Regions from separate parts of the Homo sapiens genome. Here region 2 is linked to region 1. The links are contacts of gene promoters, found by promoter capture Hi-C in blood cells and fetal thymus (Javierre and others, 2016). All regions are on one chromosome and are shown on one strand. The core of a region is centred on a gene start or on the middle of the fragment in contact, and the rest is flanking DNA. Distances in the headings are between cores, read along the strand shown.

Evidence for each region. Contacts are between HindIII fragments. The CHiCAGO score rates a contact against its expected background, and 5 or more counts as called.
Region 2: a contact is called between a fragment that was not itself captured here and the fragment with the promoter of STX19 in region 1, in 1 of 17 cell types (activated CD4 T cells). The highest score is 5.1, in activated CD4 T cells.

What each region holds. Positions count from the first base shown.
Region 1 is chr3:94,026,378-94,030,778 of GRCh38, forward strand. STX19 (syntaxin 19) reads right to left here and starts at 2,220. Exons shown (of 2, transcript NM_001001850.3): 1 at 1,990-2,220. All of the region lies in intron 3 of ARL13B (ARF like GTPase 13B), which reads left to right. The HindIII fragment of the contact is 4,986 bases long and covers 1-2,494 here.
Region 2 is chr3:94,118,354-94,122,754 of GRCh38, forward strand. The region is part of intron 5 of NSUN3 (NOP2/Sun RNA methyltransferase 3); the gene reads left to right. Among named protein-coding and RNA genes, the nearest start is that of NSUN3, 57 kb to the left of the region's middle. The HindIII fragment of the contact is 8,206 bases long and covers 1-4,401 here.

The DNA.
Region 1 (4,401 bases), core at 970-3,469:
TGCTTATCTTTATAGAATTAACATAATTGAGAATGTTTCCCTAAATCCTTGTTCATCTGTGTAGAAATTGACTTGATAGGTACTCAAATATGTTTATATGCTGTATATAAATTACATTTTCTAGTAGTTGCATACTCATAACTATATGTATAACTATCCAATTTATTGATCTTATATCTTCATGAATTAGAATGTTAGGCAAAATGAGACAAATAAGCATGTTAGAATTTAAAACATGCAAGGACAGGATTCATATAAGCATAAAATATGAAGCTCATAGTTGTGAAATCATTTAATTGCTTAGACTAGGTGAAATTGATGAAATTACTATTTTATGCAGTCTGTTATGTACCTTAAATTTATTATGTTGGAAGAGTTATATACAAATATGAATCATCTTTTATTATGTTTAACTTGCAGCATTGCTATACAGTTTTGAATTTTACTAGCAAGAACTGTATCTGTGAGCTTAAACATGATATTTAAAAAAGAAAGAACACTAACTCGTATGTATGATAATCAACTTGGACAACTTGTTCTGGGAAATAGAAAAGTAAACTGGTGCGACTCAAATAAAAGGTTCTCTGCCCTATTACAGACACTGAAAATCCCTAGAAACAGAAACATGAGTAAAAATTACCTTGTACTTTTAGAAATATGCCCTGGGATAGATACTTAGTGTATTTATAGATTTTTTTAAAGTAGGCCATTTCTTTTCATAGTTACTGTAATGATTAAATAAAACATTTCAAGAAATATGACCAGTTTTTACCCAAGAGAAAACAGAATATTCTGTTGCTTTTGTATATGAAGTCAACTTGCCACATTTTTCTAGTGCAAGTGAAAGCAGAGGATCTTATTGTAATATATTAACCTCTTTGGCTACTAAAGTGAGGGCCAAATAGTAGTTTCTAAAAACTAAAAAAAAATTGCAAATTGCATATATTGTCTAATTTTGAAGTATCTGACTTTTTTTGCAATGTAAACTTTCAATGCTTTTTTCTACATTTTATTTAGTCTAAATAACTTATTGAATTAACTTGTATAACAACATTAAGATCATTTTTGTTTAAATATGATGTATAATTTTTGAACTTTTATCTGATTCAAGTAAGCTGTACATACATAAAATGATTTTTATATTACATTTAAAACTGCATAGCTGTGAAGATAATGTGTTCGAGGTATTACGTGGCCAATTCTCAAGTCCACCTTTAAAATACATATAAAAGTCATTATTATTTTGATTTGAAATGGAATATTTATTAAATTCTAACATAGTAACAATTATAACTTTGAAAGTATCTAACCTATCTACATATGTTGTATTTAAATGATGCTGATTTAAATTTTTCAAACTATCAATTAAATGCTAACACTTACGTTAAATGGTATAACAAGTATTTTTAATGTACTAGTTGAAATATTATAAAGGTTAGTGAGTACTTCGATATTTTCTGGTAGCCCTTTCACAAGATTATTTTCTCATTTTTTCAATTTTAGAAGATTCTAGTAAACAACAATGAAGCAATTAAGACCATTATAGCAAATTATTTCAGATTTTTAAGGTTATACGTATGTGTCAAATTTGGGTATAAGCTGCTTTTCAGAGTGAAATATAAAAATGTTCTCTAAAGTAAGCACATTCATAGTCTGTCTATAAAAGAAATAATTTTAGATCTGTTTTTACATCTGACTTTCTAGTATTTTTTAAATGAGAGCTTACTTTTTAAAAGACTTAAAAATTTTTTCTTTCCTCTAAAGTTGATTTTTATTATCGTAGTCTATTTTCAAGAGCTTTATACCCAGATCCCAGTCAGCATGTCAGTAATATATGTGAACAAATCAGCTACTGGTACCCCGGTCCAAATCTGAGCAAAACAAGTAACCCTCATTATTTGTTGAGTGATTTTTAAATGTAACAGTGTAACCAGATGTCAGTCTATGGATACCTCATATTAAAAAGTACAGAAAAGAGTCATTATTTACCTTTCTGTTTTCTTCCTTTTGTTGGTTTTCCACCTGCGGTGTTGGAGTCCTGCCTTTGAGAGAATATCTGAATATCATCTCATGTTTTGAACAAATTATCTAAATCTCTGTCTTATAGGGCACAGACTAATTTCTGTATAGTTTTCATGTTGTTAATTTGAAAGCCAAATAATGAAGTCAAATAAGAGATAAAGTTGTACGTTTGCTGTTAATAGCAAGTGAAAATAGATTGCTTACTTCACACCTGGAGAATCTGGTTCTGCCTGTTAGACGCCTATTCTTTAGATTAAAGGAAGATCATTTTCATTGGAGCTAGTCGGTAACAGGAAGTCCTCGTTAAACTGCCTACGTAGAGTATTTGGCACTGGATCTGCAAATTTAGTCCTACATTGTATATGTAATATATTATTCCAAGAAAATGGGTTTGTATTTAAACAAAGGTTACTTTCTTTTCTATAGATATCAAAACTTACTAAAAATATGGAATTAAATAGGAATGAAAAGAAGCTTGGTGTAAAAGCTTTTTTTGTTCCATTTACTTTAAAATGGTTGAAATCTGTCCTATTTTAGGAAATCCCAAAAGAGCTTAGCTCACAAAATCATAGAATTTCAGAAGGAGAACATCCAGGAAAGAGCTCATGTCTGTAAACCATTCATCCCACGTTACTTTTAATTTTTTTTACTTTTTATTATGCCTGCTGTTTTTATTTTAAAATAAATTTTATATAGAACTAAAGTTATCCAGCAATATATGTTAAATCATTTATTTTGTCAATATAACAACTCAAAATTAATTTATACCAGAGGGAAATGTTTATAGGAAGAATTAAAAATGAAAATTTCTCTTGTACTACCAAATTTCAGACCCATTTTTTCTACCTGACTTGTTACTATTTGAGGGCAAGAAGAAGGAAATTGCTGTATCTATCAAAATCATATATATATATATATATATATATATATATATATTTATTTTTTTTTTATTTTTTTTTTTTTTTGAGAAGGAGTCTTGCTCTTGTAGCCCAGGCTGGAGTGCAGTGGCACGATCTTGGCTCACTGCAACCTCCGTCTCCCGGGTTCAAGCAATTCTGCTGCCTGAGCCCCATAAGTAGCTGGGATTACAGTTGCCTGCCACCACGCCCAGCTAATTTTTTTGTAGAAATGGGGTTTCACCATGTTTGCCAGGCTGGTCTCGAACTCCTGACCTCAGGTGATCCACCTGCCTCAGCCTCCCAAAGTTCTGGGATTACAGATGTGAACCACCATGCCCGGCCAATCACATTTATATTTATTCTTTGTTTTAACAGTTCTACTTCCTGGAATCTGTACTCAAAATAAGAAATGACTCCTTTACACACCTACTTTTTATAGCACTCTTTGTAAAAACAAAACACTGGAAACACAAAAGTCCTTCAGCGTAGAACTGGCTGAATAAATGATGGAACATTCAAAGGGGAGCATTTTGCAATTATAGAAAATAGTGAAGATTTTATTATACTGCTTCAGGGTACTTCAAAATTTACTGTTCAGTTAAAACAAGCATGCTGCAGAAGAATATATATAATATGCTAAGTTTTAGGAAGAAAGGAAGGGTAGATATAAATATTGTATATATACACAAATACATAAACCAGTCAATAGCATTGAATATTCACAGTGCCCAAATTATGGTCCTTGAAATACCATTTTCTCCATACGCTTGTTTATATTTTCAAAAAGAAATAATGGGAGGATGAACTAAACACGAATGAAAATGGTTACCTATAAGGGAAGGGAAGGAAAAGGCAGAGAGATAGCAAATAGTTCCTTTCTGATTGTACCTTGTTTTTATAGTTCTGAATTTAGAACCATATAAATATTTTTTTATTTTTATTTTTTGAGACAGGGTCTCACTCTGTCACCCAGCCTGGAGTGCAGTGGCGCGATCTCGGCTCACTGCAACCTCTGCCTCCTGGGTTCAAGCGATTCTCATGCCTCAGCCTCCCGAGTAGCTGGTATTACAGGTGCACGCCACCACGCCTGGCTCATTTTTTTTTTTTTTTTTTTTTAGTAAAGACAGGGTTTCACCATGTTGGCAAAGCTGGTCTTGAACCCCTGACAAATGATCCACCCACATTGGCCTCCCAGAGTGCTGAGATTACAGGTGTGAGCCACCACGTCCAGCCGATATAAATATTTTAGAAATTAAATCTTAAAACAAATACACAAACGATCTCTAAAATGCAAAAGCACCTAGAAAGAAATGAACCTAGGTATATATCTAGGTGATGGCAAAACCACACAGAGAAGTACTATTTTAAGTAATTTTAAAACAGTATTATTGACTCTGCATCTCTAGTGGGATATAGCGTAGAGACAAAGATACGTAACCACAAAGATATGTTAACCTGCACTTAGTAGTCTTAATATTTA
Region 2 (4,401 bases), core at 1,092-3,591, 92 kb after region 1:
TACTTAATCTGATCAAATAATACTTTTGCTTCTACTGTTGTTAGTCATGACATTTTTCTGACTTCTACTTTTAAGTATGATTAGAAAGTTTACTGTTATCATTAGAATTCAATGATGAATAATACCAGTCTTAATACAGCTTGGTTAGTGATAATTTCATGCATTATAGTTAGTGGTTAGCACAAATACGACATTACTCAGGATCTTGTTAAACCATGACACAGGATCATTCAGGAGCCAAGGGGCCATAGCTCATTTGGACAGGTTAATAGAGGATACTATACTATTATGCAGAAATGGATGTTGCTTGGCTGGCTGTTTAGTTTTCCTTCCTCTTATTTAAAAAAAAAAATAATAAATAACTAAATGGCACAGACATTTACACAAGCATAGAGAACCCAACCTGTCTTTTTTTTTCTTCTTCGTTCTCTAATCCTGACTTGTCTTTTTATGTGGTCAGTACCACAGCTTTGCCAAAGTTTATTAGTATTATTCAAGTCTTTCTAATCTCTAAATGTTTTGCCACCTCCAGAATTTAAAATTTCTTAGTGGGCTTGTTAAGACCTATTAAGCAATATCTTTCTTTTGTTTTGAGTGAATCATTTTGCTCCCCCAAACAACCCTTCTCACATCCTGCCATCTAACTGTTGTAAAAATACATATACAGTCCTCTGTTTGTGATTTGGATGAAACCTGTGATAATAATTTCTTGTTTCTTGTACACTACTTCAAAATGTGTATAAATTGTTATGGAAGCAGATGATTTATCCCAGACATTATTGTAATGGACAGGGCCCTGTATATTTAGGTACTTAGATTTTAGTAGTGTGCTAATTTTTGCTTAGTATATTGTAAAATACATCTTTTAATTTTGATTGGAAAACAAAGACCAGAAATACTGGTTTTTAAATCATTGAACTTGTCTGATTATAGAGTTGTTGTATGTTCTTGCCTTAACAGAAACTATAGTGTGTAATGATAAATTGTAATTATAGAGATAGTTTTATACTTTCTGCAAAAGCAGTGGGAGGCCACAACATGGTCTGGTTCAGTTCGTAAGAAAAATGGCATTTATGGCTCTGGGGGAGGGGGACAGGGAGATGGTTTCAGGATTAAACTGTTCCACCTCAGATCATCAGGCATTAGTTAGATTCCGGAGCTCAGGTGGTAATGCCTGCTCACCCACCACTCAACTCCTGCTGTGCAGCTGGGTTCCTAATAGGTCACAGACTGGTACTGGTCTGTAGGCCCAGGGATTGGGGTCCTCTGATCTATAGCATAAGATAATTCTCAGAGTAGAAAAATCTTAGCTATAAACCCTAGGAGTGAGTTTTTACAAATTGCCTGCCTTCCTTTATCTTTGAATACAAATTTCTGATAGTTTTAAAATACATAACTACTGAAAGCAAAAGGATTAAAATGATATTTAAACAACATGCAGCAGTAGCAAAACAGCAAGACCATTTGACAGGAATCCCTAACATTTGCCTTATGGTTTTGAGATTAACCCAATTTGTTTTAAAAAGGCTTTGTGTTACCACATACAATTTTCTCATTTAGAAATTAATGTGGGCAGTTAAGTTATACCTGCCTAATTTTAGAAAGATAAATTATGAATGTCGAAATGAAAGGTAAGCAGAAGAATCAGCCAACATTGGCAACATTATAGAAATTAATTTAAATTTGCATTAAGCCAGGAACATATTGTTTGTAAATTATGAGGCTTCTATGTACTTTTGTACAGCTTTAATGAAAAAGAATCATACTTACTTGATTAAGCATTGGCTTTGCTAATTGTGGAACTAAGACCAAAATAGTCATTTTCATGGGAGGTTGGAAGTATCTGAATTCAAATATTGCCTATATCCACAATAATCTAACATTTTTATTGTGTATTTCTCTATTTTTAATTGTTTAAAAATACATAACATAAAATTTGCTATCTTAACCATTTTTAAGTGTACAGTTCAATAGTGTTAAGTACATTCACATTGTTGTACTACCAATCTCCAGAACTCTTTTCATCTTTCAAAACTGAAAGTCGATATCCATTAAGCACTAACTCTTCATTCCCTTCACTTCTTAGCCCCTGGCAACCACCATTCTACTTTCTGTCTCTATGAATTTGACTATTCTAGATGCCTCATATAAGTGGAATCATGTGATATTTCTTTTTTGTGACTGGCTTATTTCACTTAGCATAATGTTCTCAGGGTTAATCCATGTTATAGCATCTGTCAGAGTTTTCTTCCTTCTTGATGCTGAATAATATTTCATCATATCTATGTATCTGTCTACACATTTTGCTTGGCAGTTCATCCACTGATGGACACTTGGGTTGCTTCTATCTTTTGGCCATTGTGAATAATGCTACTATGAACATGGGTACAAATATCTCTTTAAGACCCTGCTTTCAATTGTTTGGGGAATATGACCAGAAGTGGAATTGCTGGAGCACATAATAACTTGATTTTTAAGTTTCTGAGGAGCCGTCATATTGTTTTCCATAGTGGCTATACCATTTTAATAATCTAACATTTTTAAAGAAAGTCTTATACCTATTGCTATAGTTAGTAGAAAATGATCCAAAATGAATGTAGTTACAACTTTACTTAGCAAATTGGCCTTTACCTTAGTGTGTTGCTGTAAAAACAAAAAAAGAGAAAACAAAAAACGCCATCATTAGATGTGTATTAGTTGTTTCCTATTGCTGCTGTTAACAATTTGCCACAAATTTAGTGGCTTTAAATAGCACAGATTTGTTACCTTTGCGCTTCTGGAGGTCAGAAGTCCAAAATGAGCCCTGTGGGACTAATATCAAGATGCTGGCAGAGATGTGTTCCTCCTGGAGGTGCTAAGGGAAAATCTGTTTGCTTACCTTTTCCAGCCTTCAGAAGCAGCTCACATACCTGAGCTCTTTGCCCTAGGCCAGCAATCCTGTCAGTTCAACCCAGGCTTCCATCATCACATCTTCACCAACTCTCTGCCTCCCTCTTTCAATGATAAAGGACCTTTGTGATTACATCAGGCCCACTCGGATAATCCAGGATAATCTCCCCATTGCAGGATCCTTAATTTAGTCACATCTGCACATAGCCTTTTCCCATGTAAAATGGCTTGCTTACAGGTTCTGGGGATTAGGATGTGGACATCTTTGAGGGGTTTTCATTCTTCCTACCGCAGGATATTTATTATCCCTTTAGCAGTTCACATCTCCAGCATCTAGATAGGAGCCTTTTTTGTTTCCATGGGGAATATTTAGAGGGCAGTGAATAGTGAGGAGAGGAAACATAGAAAAAGTTTTTTTAGAGACTAACAACAAACACCGAAGTATGAGAAGACCCTCAGTGGTAGGAACCCCCAAAATATCTCTTTAATCAATAAATGAATACATGAGATGTATAGAAATCCTGGATACCATAAAATTTTAGTTATCTGGAACCTCAGGGAATACCTTTTCTAGAGAGGTTATCCCTTAACAGTCAAAATTTTTAAAAATACATATAACTGGCCAGGCGTGGTGGCTCATGCCTGTAGTCCCAGCACTTTGGGAGGCCAAGGCGGGCGGATCACCTGAGGTCAGGAGTTTGAGACCAGCCTGGCCAACATGGTGAAACCCCGTCTCTACTAAAAGTACAAAAATTAGCCAGGCGTGGTGGCAGGTGCCTGTAATCCCAGCTACTCAGGAGGCTGAGGCAGGAGAATTGCTTGAACTGGAGAGGTGGAGGTTGCAGTGAGCCAGGATTGCACCACTGCACTCCAGTCTTGGCAACAAGAGCAAGACTCATCCCCCCACCTAAAAAAAAAAAAAAAAAAAACAATTTAAGTGACCTCCATGGCAAAAGCTCTGATATTTATTCTTTTGTCAAATCTCCCCTTTAATTTGTATTACAGAAATAAATCAGATGGGTAAAAAATTAAACTACAAATGAGCTCCTAGTGAAAAGGATTGCTCCCCTGCAACTCTTCCTCTCTTCCTCCAGTCTTAGTCCTCAGAGGCAATTGCTTCTAATGATTTTGGTTCCTAATTCATTCTTCAGGTCACCCCCAAATCTCTAAATAATACGTTTATTCATTTTCTAAAATTGTCAAAAAATTAGACATTAACTACTGCCCTATCCCAAGGATTTATGTCACTTACACCACCCTTCCCTCATCACACTACCCTGCACCCTGCAATCTCACACTGTACTCAGTTTCTCTCTGTCGGCTCTGAAACTTAGTACCATACACTTAGACCTACATTTCTTATTCTATTAGTGGGGGAAAGTTCTCTTAAATACACATCACACCTTTTTTGTCTTTTTTTCTTCATTTATCTTTATTCTTTTAAAAAAATAATTAGAGGCAAATGTCTTTTGCCTTTTATTTTTATAAAATAAGAACACTTACACGCCCACC